Linked DNA regions of Homo sapiens: region 1 is linked to region 2. The links are contacts of gene promoters, found by promoter capture Hi-C in blood cells and fetal thymus (Javierre and others, 2016). All regions are on one chromosome and are shown on one strand. The core of a region is centred on a gene start or on the middle of the fragment in contact, and the rest is flanking DNA. Distances in the headings are between cores, read along the strand shown. Region 1 overlaps KLHDC4 (kelch domain containing 4). Region 2 holds the start of CA5A (carbonic anhydrase 5A).

Region 1 (5,785 bases), core at 3,226-5,725, 170 kb before region 2:
ACAAAAGCCAAACAGTAGAAATAACCTAAGTGTTGGTCTGCAGATGAGTGGACAAACACAATGTGGCATACCCACAGACGGAACAGGATTTAGCCATAAGAAGAAATAAAGTTCTCACACATGCCACAGAACTGATGAACTTGGACATACCAGGTGAAGGAAGTCAGTCACAAAAAGACACTTCTATGACTCCACTTACGCAAAATACCTAGAATAGGCCAATTCACAGTGACAGAAAGTTGACCAGAAGTCACCAGGGGGCTGGGGGAGGGGAAACAGGGAGCAACCATTGAAGGGTCTAGACACTTCTCCCATCTTTTGGCTTCCCTGGGCTACAATGGAAGAAGAATTGTCTCGGGCCACGCATAAAATACACTAACACTAACAATAGCTGATGAGCTTTAAAAAAAAATCTCATCATGTTTTAAGAAAGTTTACAAATACGTGTCACGCTGCATTCGAAGCTGTCCTGGGCCACCAGTTAGACAAGGTTGGTCTAGAGTTTCTATTTGGGGTGATAAAACAATGTTGCAACTGGTTAGTGCTAATGGTTGCACAGCGACATGAAGTAATTCCACTGAACTGCACAGTTTTAATGATTAAAATGGCAAATTTTGGCCAGGCGCATTGGCTCATGCCTGTAATCCCAGCACTTTCGGAGGCCGAGGCGGGCGGATCACCTGAGGTGGGGAGTTCGAGACCAGTCTGGCCAGCATGAGGAAACCCCATCTCTACTAAAAATACAAAATTAGCCAGGCATGGTGGCGCATGCCTGTAATCCCAGCTACTTGGGAGGCTGAGGAAGAATTGCTTGAACCTGGGAGGTGGAGGTTGCGGTGAGCCGATATCATACCATTGCACTCCAGCCTGGGCAACAAGAGCAAAACTCTGTCTCAAAAAAACCAAAACCAAACAAAAATAAAATAAAATGGCAAATTTTGTTAAACATTTTACCACAATAAAAAAAACTTTTTAGGTCGGGTGCAGTGGCTCACACCTGTAATCACAGCATTTTGGGAGGCCAAGGCAGTTGGATCATCTGAGGTCAGGAATTTGAGGCCAGCCTGACTCCAGAGGTTGCAGTGAGCTGAGATCGCGCCATAGCACTCCAGCCTGGGCAACAAAAGCAAAACTCCGTCTCAGAAAAGAAAAAAAGAAAAAAAAAAACTTTTTAAAAATAATAAATAGGCCGGGTACAGTGGCTCACGCCTGTAATCCCAGCACTTTGGGAGGCCGAGGTGGGTGGATCACCTAAGGTCGGGAGTTCAAGACCAGCCTGACCAACACGGAGAAACTCCGTCTCTACTAAAAATACAAAATTAGCCGGGCGTGGTGGTGCATGCCTATTGTCCCAGCTACTCCGGAGGCTGAGGCAGGAGAATCACTTGAACCTAGGAGGCTACAGTGAGCCGAGATCGTGCCATTGCACTCCAGCCTGGGCAACAAGAGCTACACTCCGTCTCAGAAAAAAAAATAAAGAGTGTTTCCCAAATTCCTCTGACCCTGAATCTTTTCTCACTGAATACCTATTGATTTTCTGCAGAAAAGCACCAAACACAACTTCAGAAACGATCTACACGGGGCCCAAACTGAGGTCCCCACCCAGCCACCAGCGGCACCAGCCCAGGTGTTGCCGCCGCACAGGCAGGTGAGGTACTGAGGCAGCTGGTGTCATGCCCCCATTTTCCAGGTAGGTCACATCAGAGCCAATCCTGACGATATGCTCATTTAGAAACTGGTCATTCTCACAAGGTTTTAAAGTAATATGATTAAGAAATAGGAAGTTGGAAGATATTAAGGTTACCAAGCAAAAGATCTTAATCTCAGGATAACTGCTCCCTCCTATTAGGAAGCATTTCCAGCTGACCCAGGGAACTGCCAACACCTTAAATTATATCCTGACATGAAATCTGACTTTCAGGCAACATTACTTATGGAAAAATTCTAAAATATCATTAAAAAAAAAAAAAAAGAAAAAGGCCAGGTACGGTGACTTGAGCCCAGGAACTCGAGACCAGCCTGGACAACATAAAAAAAAGTCTCTACAGGGCCGGGCACGGTGGCTCACGCCTGTAATCCTAGCACTCTGGGAGGCTGAGGCGGGCGGATCACGAGGTCAGAAGATCAAGACCATCCTGGCCAACATGGTGAAACCCCGTCTCTACTAAAAACACAAAAAATTAGCCAGGCTTGGTGGCGGGTGCCTGTAGTCCCAGCTACTTGGCAGGCTGAGGCAGGAGAATGGCGTGAACCCGGGAGGCAGAGCTTGCAGTGAACCAAGATGGCGCCACTGTACTCCAGCCTGGGTGACAGAGTGAGACTCCGTCCCAAAAAAAAAAAAAAAAAAAAGTCTCTACAAAAAAAATAAAACTAATCCCCATTCAAAGTGGCTTTCCTCAGGAGTGCTATATATCAGAAGCCTAAGATCAAGGATTTATTTGCTCCAATAACTCAAATGAAAATGTACATTTACAGCCAGGCACAGCGACTCACGCCTGTAATCCCAGCACTTTGGGAGGCCAAGGCAGGTGGATTACCTAAGGTCAGGAGTTCACGACCAGCCAGGCCAACATGGCAAAACCCCATCTCTACTAAAAATACAAAAATTAGCTGGGTATGGTGGCTGGCGCCTGTAATCCCAGCTACTTGGAAGGCTGAGGCAGGAGAATCACTTGAACCTGGGAGGCAGAGGTTGTAGTGAGCCAAGATCATGCCACTGTACTCCAGCCTGGATGACAGAGTGAGACTCCATCTCAAAAAGAAAAAAAAAAGTACATTTACCACATGTAACTTACATTTGGCCCTGAGGGCAACATGCAAACTAAAGGGAAAAAGAAAACTAAAATCCTAATGGACATGAAGTGAAAACCAGGAAGGACACTGGCCTTTGGGAGTGGCTCCAACACCACTCACTCTGCTCAGGGGCTGATCACCGTGCTCCTCCCACCTCTGGGCAGGTGATGATAACCCTGCCTCTGAGGCCGGTGGGTGGGACTCGGGCACCAGAGCCATCACATGCGCCTCATTAATGCAAACGCAGCACAATCGTGACCCTCCACTCCCGATGGGCTGAACCCCGGCTTCCACTAGGGCCTGCAGCAGCTTTATTAAAAGGGTAAATCCTGCAAGGTTAATCTCCTACTGAGGGAAATAAACCATTTCTCATTCCAGCTCATCCCACACGTGTATGAAATCCTACAGACTCGGAACGTTTTTACGTAATTTTCAAATCCATTTAAAATGGCTTATACTCAATTTATGTTTAACAAACTTTTCACATGAGAATTTGAAAGCATTACAAACACATCAAAAGGCCACAGTGATTTTCAGCTTTCTGCCTACAGTACGCACTTTTAAAATACCTTAAGAACCAAAGAAAAGCTCACTGGGGCAAAACTTTCATCCCCACGTCACGACCAGTGGAGGAGCTTTCAAAGTTGGCACCGGAGCCCAGAGGCAGCAGCTGTGCTGTAGGCCCTGCTCCCAGGTTCCATGACAGTAAAGCTTACAGCCTCATTCCAGTTCTTCAGCAGAAAGTGACCAAGAACAGGTTTTAATAATGAAAATGTCCCAAGTGCCTGGTCATTTACGAAACCTGGTGCTATTTAAAGCAGTTTTTCAATGTATAGAAGAAAAGGAAACATACAATATGAAAAATGCTACTTGCTCACCTTGGTGAGGGTGGGGGGCACGGAAGTTCCACAGTCTGAGTCCTCTTGGCATCGAGTGTCTGGAAATGGGCTATGAGCGCTTCCAGGTCTTCCTAGGGCAAGCAAGCAGGCACACGTGAGACTTATTCCCAGGACCCGCCGCGGAGCCACAGCCCGCTCAGCTTTCCTCCAATCAGTGTGATTCGACTGGGCTCAGTCACATCTGTGAATTGCAACATACTGTGCCTGTTTGAAATGCAGAGTTTGACACATTCGAAAGTAACCAGAGCTTGACCTCAAAGGCAGTCTGCTTAAAGGGTAGATGTGTGCACCAAGTATTATCTCCACACCCTTAACGCTCCCTCTGCAAGACCTTCCACTTAGACAAGCCCGTTGTGACTTCACTGCAGACACTCTCAGCACCTCTCATAACCCAGACTCGAGCCGTCGCACCTGCCAGCCTTCCTGTCTGCAGAGCAGTGTCTGACAAGAACTTCCACTTAGACAAGCCCATCGTGACTTCACTGCAGACACCCTCAGCACCTCTCAGAGCCCAGGCCTGGGCCGTCACGCCTGCCTGCCTTCCTGTCTGCTGAGCAGTGTCTGATATATTTCTCTTGCTTATTTGTTTCCTCCACCCCAACAAAATAATAAAATATGAGCTCCACCAGAGCAAGACTTGTGTCTAGTTAAAACACTGCCTGCACAGCAAGAGCTCAGCAAATACCAGCTGCAGTCTATCCAAGTAAGAAGGTCTCAACTTTTACTACCATCGAGAGTGACTCAAGGTACTGATGTGCCAGCACAGAGGGCAGCACTGGAACCCAGTGTTCCCGCCTCAGTCCCAGTGCCCATTTCCCAACATTTACGAGACACTCCCATGCACACCCGAGCCTGGCATTTCAAGTTCCTTCTAGCCTTCAGTGTCCTGCTTGCAACTACACACACCTGCAGACCATCTTCCCTCCCCCACACCCACCTCTCCAACCTCACCTCCCACCTGGCCTCACTCTCCAAGATACACCAGCGTCCTCTCCGTTCCTTCAATGAAAACGCCAGGTTCCCTCAGCCTGCCACGCCCCACCTCGTGCTTCCTTCAGTCTACCTCTCATCTCAGGGTGAATGTCAGCAGGGTACACTGCTTAGTATTCTAAACGATGCAATATTTAAAACACACAAGTTAACAGAACTTTATCCAAGACATTCCTGTATACGGTTCCCAGGGTAAGGAATAAAGTGTCACCCACATGTACCCACCCACACATTCCCTCAAGTAACCACTATCTGGAACTCGATGCTTATTAGTCTCACGCTTTTCTTCAATCTTTTATTACACATGTGTATCCCTAAGCAACATATAGTATTGTTTTACATTTTTAAATGTCATTAAATGGACTGGGCACAGTGGCTCACGCCTGTAATCCCCGAACTTTGGGAGGCCGAGGCAGGTGGATAATTTGAGGTCAGGAGTTCGAGACCAGCCTGACCAACACGGTGAAACCCCGTCTCTACTAAAAAATACAAAAATTAGCCGGCCACAGTGGCGCACACCTGTAGTCCCAAACTACTCGGGAGGCTGAGGCAGGAGAATTGCTTGAGCCTGGGAGGCAGAGGTTGCAATGAGCTGAGATCATGCCACTGCGACACTTGCTCTGGGTGACAGAGCAGGACTCCATCTCAAAAAAAATAAAAAATAAAATGTCATTAAATGGTATCATACTGTATATTCTTTCAACTTGCTTTTTTTGCTCAACGAGGTTAAACAAACAGTTCAAATACTAACGTCTATGTACCGCGAAAGCTTTGCTGCTGCTACTTAGAGCGGTCTTTGACCTTGGCTGAACCTCATCATCATTGGGTGACTGAAGGAGAGCAAGGTGGTAGGGTCTGGGTGACGCCAGTGGCCTAGCCAGTGACAGCCTCTCCAAAGTGACAATAAGCTGAATGCTGAAAAGACGACTCAGACGGAGTATGGTTGGGGTATAGGTAAGACCACAGACACAACTTGCCATGTTTGAGACACTAAAAGACACTGTGGCTGGAGTGAGCCCAGGGAGACAGCTGGAAAGACAGGCAGAGGCCAGGACTAAGTGAAGGTGCGAACCAGGTGACCTGATACATGAGTTCTGTGGGAG
Region 2 (5,920 bases), core at 2,164-4,663:
GAAGACTCACACACACCTGAGCAGGAAATAGCCAGTAAAATGTCCAAAAATGTGCAGCAGTGTGCTGGTTGAGGTTTAATAAGCCGTTCTCCCAGGAATTTAGAATCTTTGATTTCTAGGGTTTGCCAATGACTGTGGTGTAAATACTTTCACCATGGCCAATTTTAAGTTACCAACGTAACGTTGCTGATCACACACTTAGGAACAGATGGGCACTGCCAGTGCACACCCTGAAACATGACTAGAAAACATTAAATGATCCCTAAAATTATTTTTTCTTAGACAGGGTCCTGCTGTGTAGCCCAGGCTGGAGTGCAGTGGCCTGATCAGGGCTCACTGCAGCCTGAAATTCCTGGGGTCAGTGATCCTCCTGCCTCAGCCTCCCAAGTAGCTGGGATGATAGGTGTGTGCCACCATGTCCAGTTAATTTTTTAATTTTTTTTTTTTTTTAGAGATGGGTTCTTGCTATGTTGCCCAGGCTGATCTTGAACTCCTGTGCTTGAGCTGTCCTCCCACATCAGCCTCCCAAAACAGTGCTGGGATTACAGGTGTGAGCCCCCATGCCTGGTTCTAAAATTATCACTGAGCGTTTTGTAACTCTTTGACTTTTCTCTCAAGGCCAAACCACCAGTGATTTTTCAATAATTTTTAGTAACAATATTCTTTTTCCAAGTGAAATAATCTTCAGAATGCCCATAAATAAAACACCGACATAGAAGGATGAATTCCTTATGATGTTCCAATCTTCTCTGCTTGGCAGAATATTCTGCTCTTTGTGGAACTCTGAAATGATTTGGCAGAGCCCTCTGTTCACTGGGAACAGGTTGAGGACCATGGTGTAAATGGATTTAGGTGCCGATACAGAATATGACTCTCTCTAGCACACGATGTAAGAGGACATGTTGCCACAGTAAGAAATGGAATGCTACCTGCTGCCCACTGACAGGGAAATGCTTAAATAGACACAGGGCACCCACCGCTGCCTGTGTTAGCAACAGCAGCAGCTGGCGTCTAGCAAGGGCTTCCTGGAGCCATGTGCTGTCCCCAGCCTTTGCAGGCCCCACCTCGGACCCTTCTCCCAACGACACTGTGCCGTAAGCACCATTATCAACCCCCTGTTACAGACGACAAAACCAAGGCTGGGGGAAGTTAAGAAAGTCACAGAGGGGACAGCTGGGCGTGGTGGCTCACGCCTGCAATCCCAGCACTTTGGGAGGCTGAGGCGGGCAGATCACCTGAGGCTGGGAGTTCAAGACCACCCTGAGCAACATGGAGAATCCCTGTATCTACTAAAAATACAAAATTAGCCGGATGTGGTGGCGCATGCCTGTAATTCCAGCTACTCGGGAGGCTGAGGCAGGAGAATTGCTTGAACCTGGGAGGTGGGGGTTGCGGTGAGCTGGAGATCGCACCACTGCGCTCCAGCCTGGGCAACAAGACAGAAATTAGTCTCAAAAAATAAAGGAAAGTCACAGAGGGGCAACAGCCATAGAGCAGTGGGGCCAAGATTCCAATCTAGGCAGGCTAGCGCTCTTGACGGTCGTACTAAGAATAAAAAAGGGGGGTGGGTGCAGTGGCTCACGCCTGTAATCCCAGCACTTTAGGAGGCCGAGGCAGGTAGACCACCTGAGGTCGGGAGTTTGAGACCAGCCTGGCCAACATGGCGAAATCCTATCTCTACTAAAAATACAGAAATTAGTTGGGCGTGGTGGCACACGCCTGTAGTCCCAGCTACTTGGGAGGCTGAGTCAAGAGGATCGCTTGAACCCAGGAGGCAGAGGCTGCAGTGAGCCGAGATCGCACCACTGCACTCCAGTCCACAGGTGTGGACCCCAACAGGAGGAATGAGTGTAGCTCACTCAGAGTCTGGGGTGGGCCAGGCTTTCTACACGCATCGTGTCATCCTTCCATGGCCCTGGAGAGAAAGTCTGGCCACCCCCATCTCGAGATAAGGACACAGAGGCTTGGGGGTGAAGACCTGCCGAGGCTCCACCTCAGCAAGCGTCAGTCGGACTGCATGCCTGGGGTCTGGCTCCTAAGCCCATGCTCTTTCAATGGCCCAAACATGGAATGCATGGAAGATTTCAGTTAGAAGAGAACTTGGCAGCTGCCAAAGCAGGCTCTCATTCTACGGAGGAAGCACCTGAGACCCAGAAAGAGGAAGGGCCTCGTTCAAGGTCACAAGGCACTGACCATGAAGCCAGGAGGGGCTGGCACGGGGCAGTTTCTTGGCAGAGCTGGCTGAGTGGTTTATTTGTTACAGGTTTGCTTGAAAGCGTTCTCTGCCGAAGAGTTTAGGAGCGATCGTGACTGGTTAGTGCAGCCCATTCCGCCGGGTCTGGATGGTGAGTCGTGCCAGTGTGTCCCGTGCGAACACGGACTACCCGCCTGCTCCCAGCATCTTGCCCTCCCCAGGACCCCTGAAACGGAGGCTAAATGATTCACCCAAGGTCACCAAATACAAGAGAAACGGAGTGTGGCCAGGCGCGGTGGCTCACGCCTGTAATCCTAGCACTTTGGGAGGCCAAGGTGGGTGGATCACCTGAGGTCAGGAGTTCGAGACCAGCCTGGCCAACATGGTGAAACCCCATCTCTACCAAAATACAAAAAATTAGCTGGGTGCAGTGGCGGGTGCCTGTAGTCCCAGTTACTTTGGAGGCTGAGGCAGGAGAATCACTTGAACCTGGAGGGCAGAGGTTGCAGTGAGCCGAGATCATGCCATTGCACTCTAGCCTGGGCAAAAGAGCAAAACTTCATCAAAAAAAGAAAAAAGAGGGCCGGGCGCCGTGGCTGATGCCTGCAATCCCAGCACTTTGGGAGGCTGAGACAGGCGGATCGCGAGGTTAGGAGTTCGAGACCAACCTGGCTAACACAGTGAAACCCTGTCTCTACTAAAAATACGAAAAATTAGCCAGGAGTGGTGGCATGCACCTATAGTCCCAGCTACTCAGGAAGCTGAGGCAGGAGAATCGCTTGAACCCGGGAAGTGGAGGTTGTGGTGAGCTGAGATCACGCCACTGTACTCCAGCCTGGGCCACAGAGCGAGACGCCATCTTAAAAAAAAAAAAAAAAAAACGGAGTGGAAATCTGAACCCATCTGGCTCGGGACGGTCTCTCCTCTCTCCTCTCGAAAGACCCCATCAGCTAAGACAAGGATCCAGTCGCATCTTAGGAAATTTGAGGCTCTACTTACAAGTGTTATTGCTGGTTTGCCATGCACAGGAACGCTGAGAACACCATCGCCCTGGCCTCATCGAACGACTCCAGAGAGGGGCCCACATCTGCTCAACCAAGAAGGAGAAAGCTGAGGTCTTCCAAGTGTTCCTCCCCAACATCTTGGGTCTGTTCCCACTGACTCCAGTCTGAAGAGGGTGATGTTCCCTGCTGTCTGTTCTCACTTTGATCAGGACCACTGTGGACTGGCGTGTACCCACCTCTTTTTGTAGAAACTCATCCCAACCCCTGAGCCTAATGGTTAAAGTTCAACCCATGCCTTTCCCAACAGGGTGGGTCCACAGGGATTAGTGGCCTCTGCTGGGGACAGGCCACTCAGGTCACTGGGCTTTGATCTGGCAAACAGGAGCACAAGTCTGCCAGGGAGCTAGAAAAACTGTACGGTGGGGCTGCGTGAGCACCAGGGGATTACGCGGGAGGCGGGGGCGAGTGGATGAGAGCAGAGTCCCTGTTTCTTTCATGGGGTTGACCGTGTGGTTTGGGGCTCCGGGACACTCAATACCAGGCACAAAGCCATGGTGTGCATGTGAGGAGGGACTGGCAGGCAGGCTCAGAAGTACAGGAATGGGACTGGCCAAAGCGCTGCTGGGTAGACAGGCCAGGGGAGCAGGGAGCTTCTGTCCACCCACCAGGGCTCCTGAAGTCATGGAGTCCTTGCTTGCCTTAAAATAGGTGCGATTTGATTCATTCATCCTCCCCGGAAGCAAGATGCCCTGTGGCTTCGGACACTTCCAGGTCATGCCTGCTGTCTTGGCATAAACATTAACAGGGCCACCTTTCTTTCTTTCCTTTTCTTTTTTTTTTTAGACAGAGTTTCACTTCTGTTGCCCAGGCTAGAGTGCAATGGCGTGATCTCGGCTCACTGCTACCTCTGCCTCCCAGGTTCAAGCAATTCTCCTGCCTCAGCCTCCTGAGTAGCTGGGATTACAGGCGCCCACCACCATGCCCAGCTAATTTTTTGTATTTTTAGTAGAGATGGGGTTTCACCACGTTGGCCAGGCTGGTGTTGAACTCCTGACCTCAGGTGATCTGCCTGCCTCGGCCTCCCAAAGTGCTGGGATTACAAGTGTGAGCCACTACGCCCAGCCTCTTTTCTTCGTTTCTTTTCTTTTCTTTCTTTCTTTTTTTGAGATGGAGTCTCGCTCTGTTGCCCAGGCTGGAGTGCAATGGCGTGATCCTGCCTCACTGCAACCTTTGCCTCCCAGGTTTAAGCAATTCTCCTGTCTCAGCCTCCTGAGTAGCTGGGATTATAGGCACACACCACCACAACGGCCAATTTTTTGTATTTTTAGTAGAGACGGGGTTTCACTGTGTTCCCCAAGCTGGTCTCGAACTCCTGAGCTCAGGCAATCCACCCACCTCGGCCTCCTAAAGTGCTAGGATTACAGGCATGAGCCACTGCGTCCAGCCTCTTTTCTTTTCTTTCTTTCTTTCTTTCTTTCTTTCTTTCTTTTTTTTTTTTTTTTTGAGGTGAGGTCTTGCTCTGTCACCCAAGGTGGAGTGCGGTGGTGCCATCATGGCTCACTGCAGTCTCAATCACCCAGGCTCAAGTGATCCTCCCTCCTCAGCCTCCCAAGTAGCTGGGACTATAGGTGCATGCCATTATGTCCAGCTAATTTTAAAAATTATTTGTAGAGGCAGGTTCTCGCCATGTTGCCCAGGCTGGTCTTGAACTCCTGGGCTCAAGCAATCCTCCCAGAGTGGCCTCCCAAAGTGCTCGGATTACAGGCATGAGCCACTGCCCCTGGCCTGGTACCTCCCTTCATGCCCAGGGTCCACATGGGTATGTTAGCTGGTCACTCTAGCCAGGCAGCTGGTGATATTTGCAGACGCCAACCCACAAAGAACCTTCCTTTGGGTCCTTTGAGCGGCACAGCAGTTTATTCACCCAGACACCTTTTACCTGTGAAATGGAACCCATGGGATTGGGATGCACCAGTTTGTGACTTCTTGTTGTTGTTTAAACTTACAATCTTTTAGGGGGCAGGGCTATCATAACTTTTCATAGAATCCTGGAATCTTAGATCTAGAAAACCCTACAGAACACAGGTGTTGAAATGCGAGTCCACTTGTAGGCTCCTGAAAGCCCAAGAATCCCACTGAAATCCCCCACACAATGGATAGGGTCTGCGGCTTTCGGCCACTGCTCTGGTGGGCCCAAGAGTTTGCTTGCATTTGTTTTGAGCAACAAAAACCAAGTCTGGATGATATGTTCTCTCCTTCCCACACAGTCATGGTGGAAATGCACCCACTCTTGGGAAGTCTGATTCATTGTCATTCATTCATTGACCCACTCACTCATTCATTGACTCACTCACTCACTCATTGACTCACTCACTCATTCACTCACTCACTCATTCATTCACTCACTCATTCATTCTCTCACTCAGTCAATCATTCATTCACTCATTCATTCATTCATTCACTCACTCATTCACTCACTTATTCATTCACTCACTCATTCACTCATTCACTCATTCATTCACTCATTCACTCATTCATTCATTCACTCATTAATTCATTGGCTTTTGCCTCCATTTCCTCATCTGTAAAGTAGGGAAGATTCTAGGATTCCATCATACACGATAACACTCTGTCGAGCTGTTGTTGACACAAGTGATGTCCTTAGAGCGGCACTTTCATTGCTGCAGGCCAAGCTCCCACCCCAGGCATTGCCAGCCCCATG

What was found. The method cuts DNA at HindIII sites, captures the fragments that hold promoters and counts their contacts. A CHiCAGO score of 5 or more calls a contact.
Region 1: a fragment that was not itself captured here is called in contact with the fragment with the promoter of CA5A in region 2 in 3 of 17 cell types (naive CD8 T cells, activated CD4 T cells and naive CD4 T cells); the score reaches 7.0 in naive CD8 T cells.

What each region holds. Positions count from the first base shown.
Region 1 is chr16:87,758,278-87,764,062 of GRCh38, forward strand. It overlaps KLHDC4 (kelch domain containing 4), which reads right to left. Exons shown (of 12, transcript NM_017566.4): 2 at 3,672-3,763. Among named protein-coding and RNA genes, the nearest start is that of KLHDC4, 4.8 kb to the right of the region's middle. RefSeq lists an enhancer at 4,095-4,164. The HindIII fragment of the contact is 1,947 bases long and covers 3,503-5,449 here.
Region 2 is chr16:87,933,116-87,939,035 of GRCh38, forward strand. CA5A (carbonic anhydrase 5A) reads right to left here and starts at 3,414. Exons shown (of 7, transcript NM_001739.2): 1 at 3,194-3,414. The coding sequence starts at 3,335. The HindIII fragment of the contact is 28,449 bases long and covers 1-5,920 here.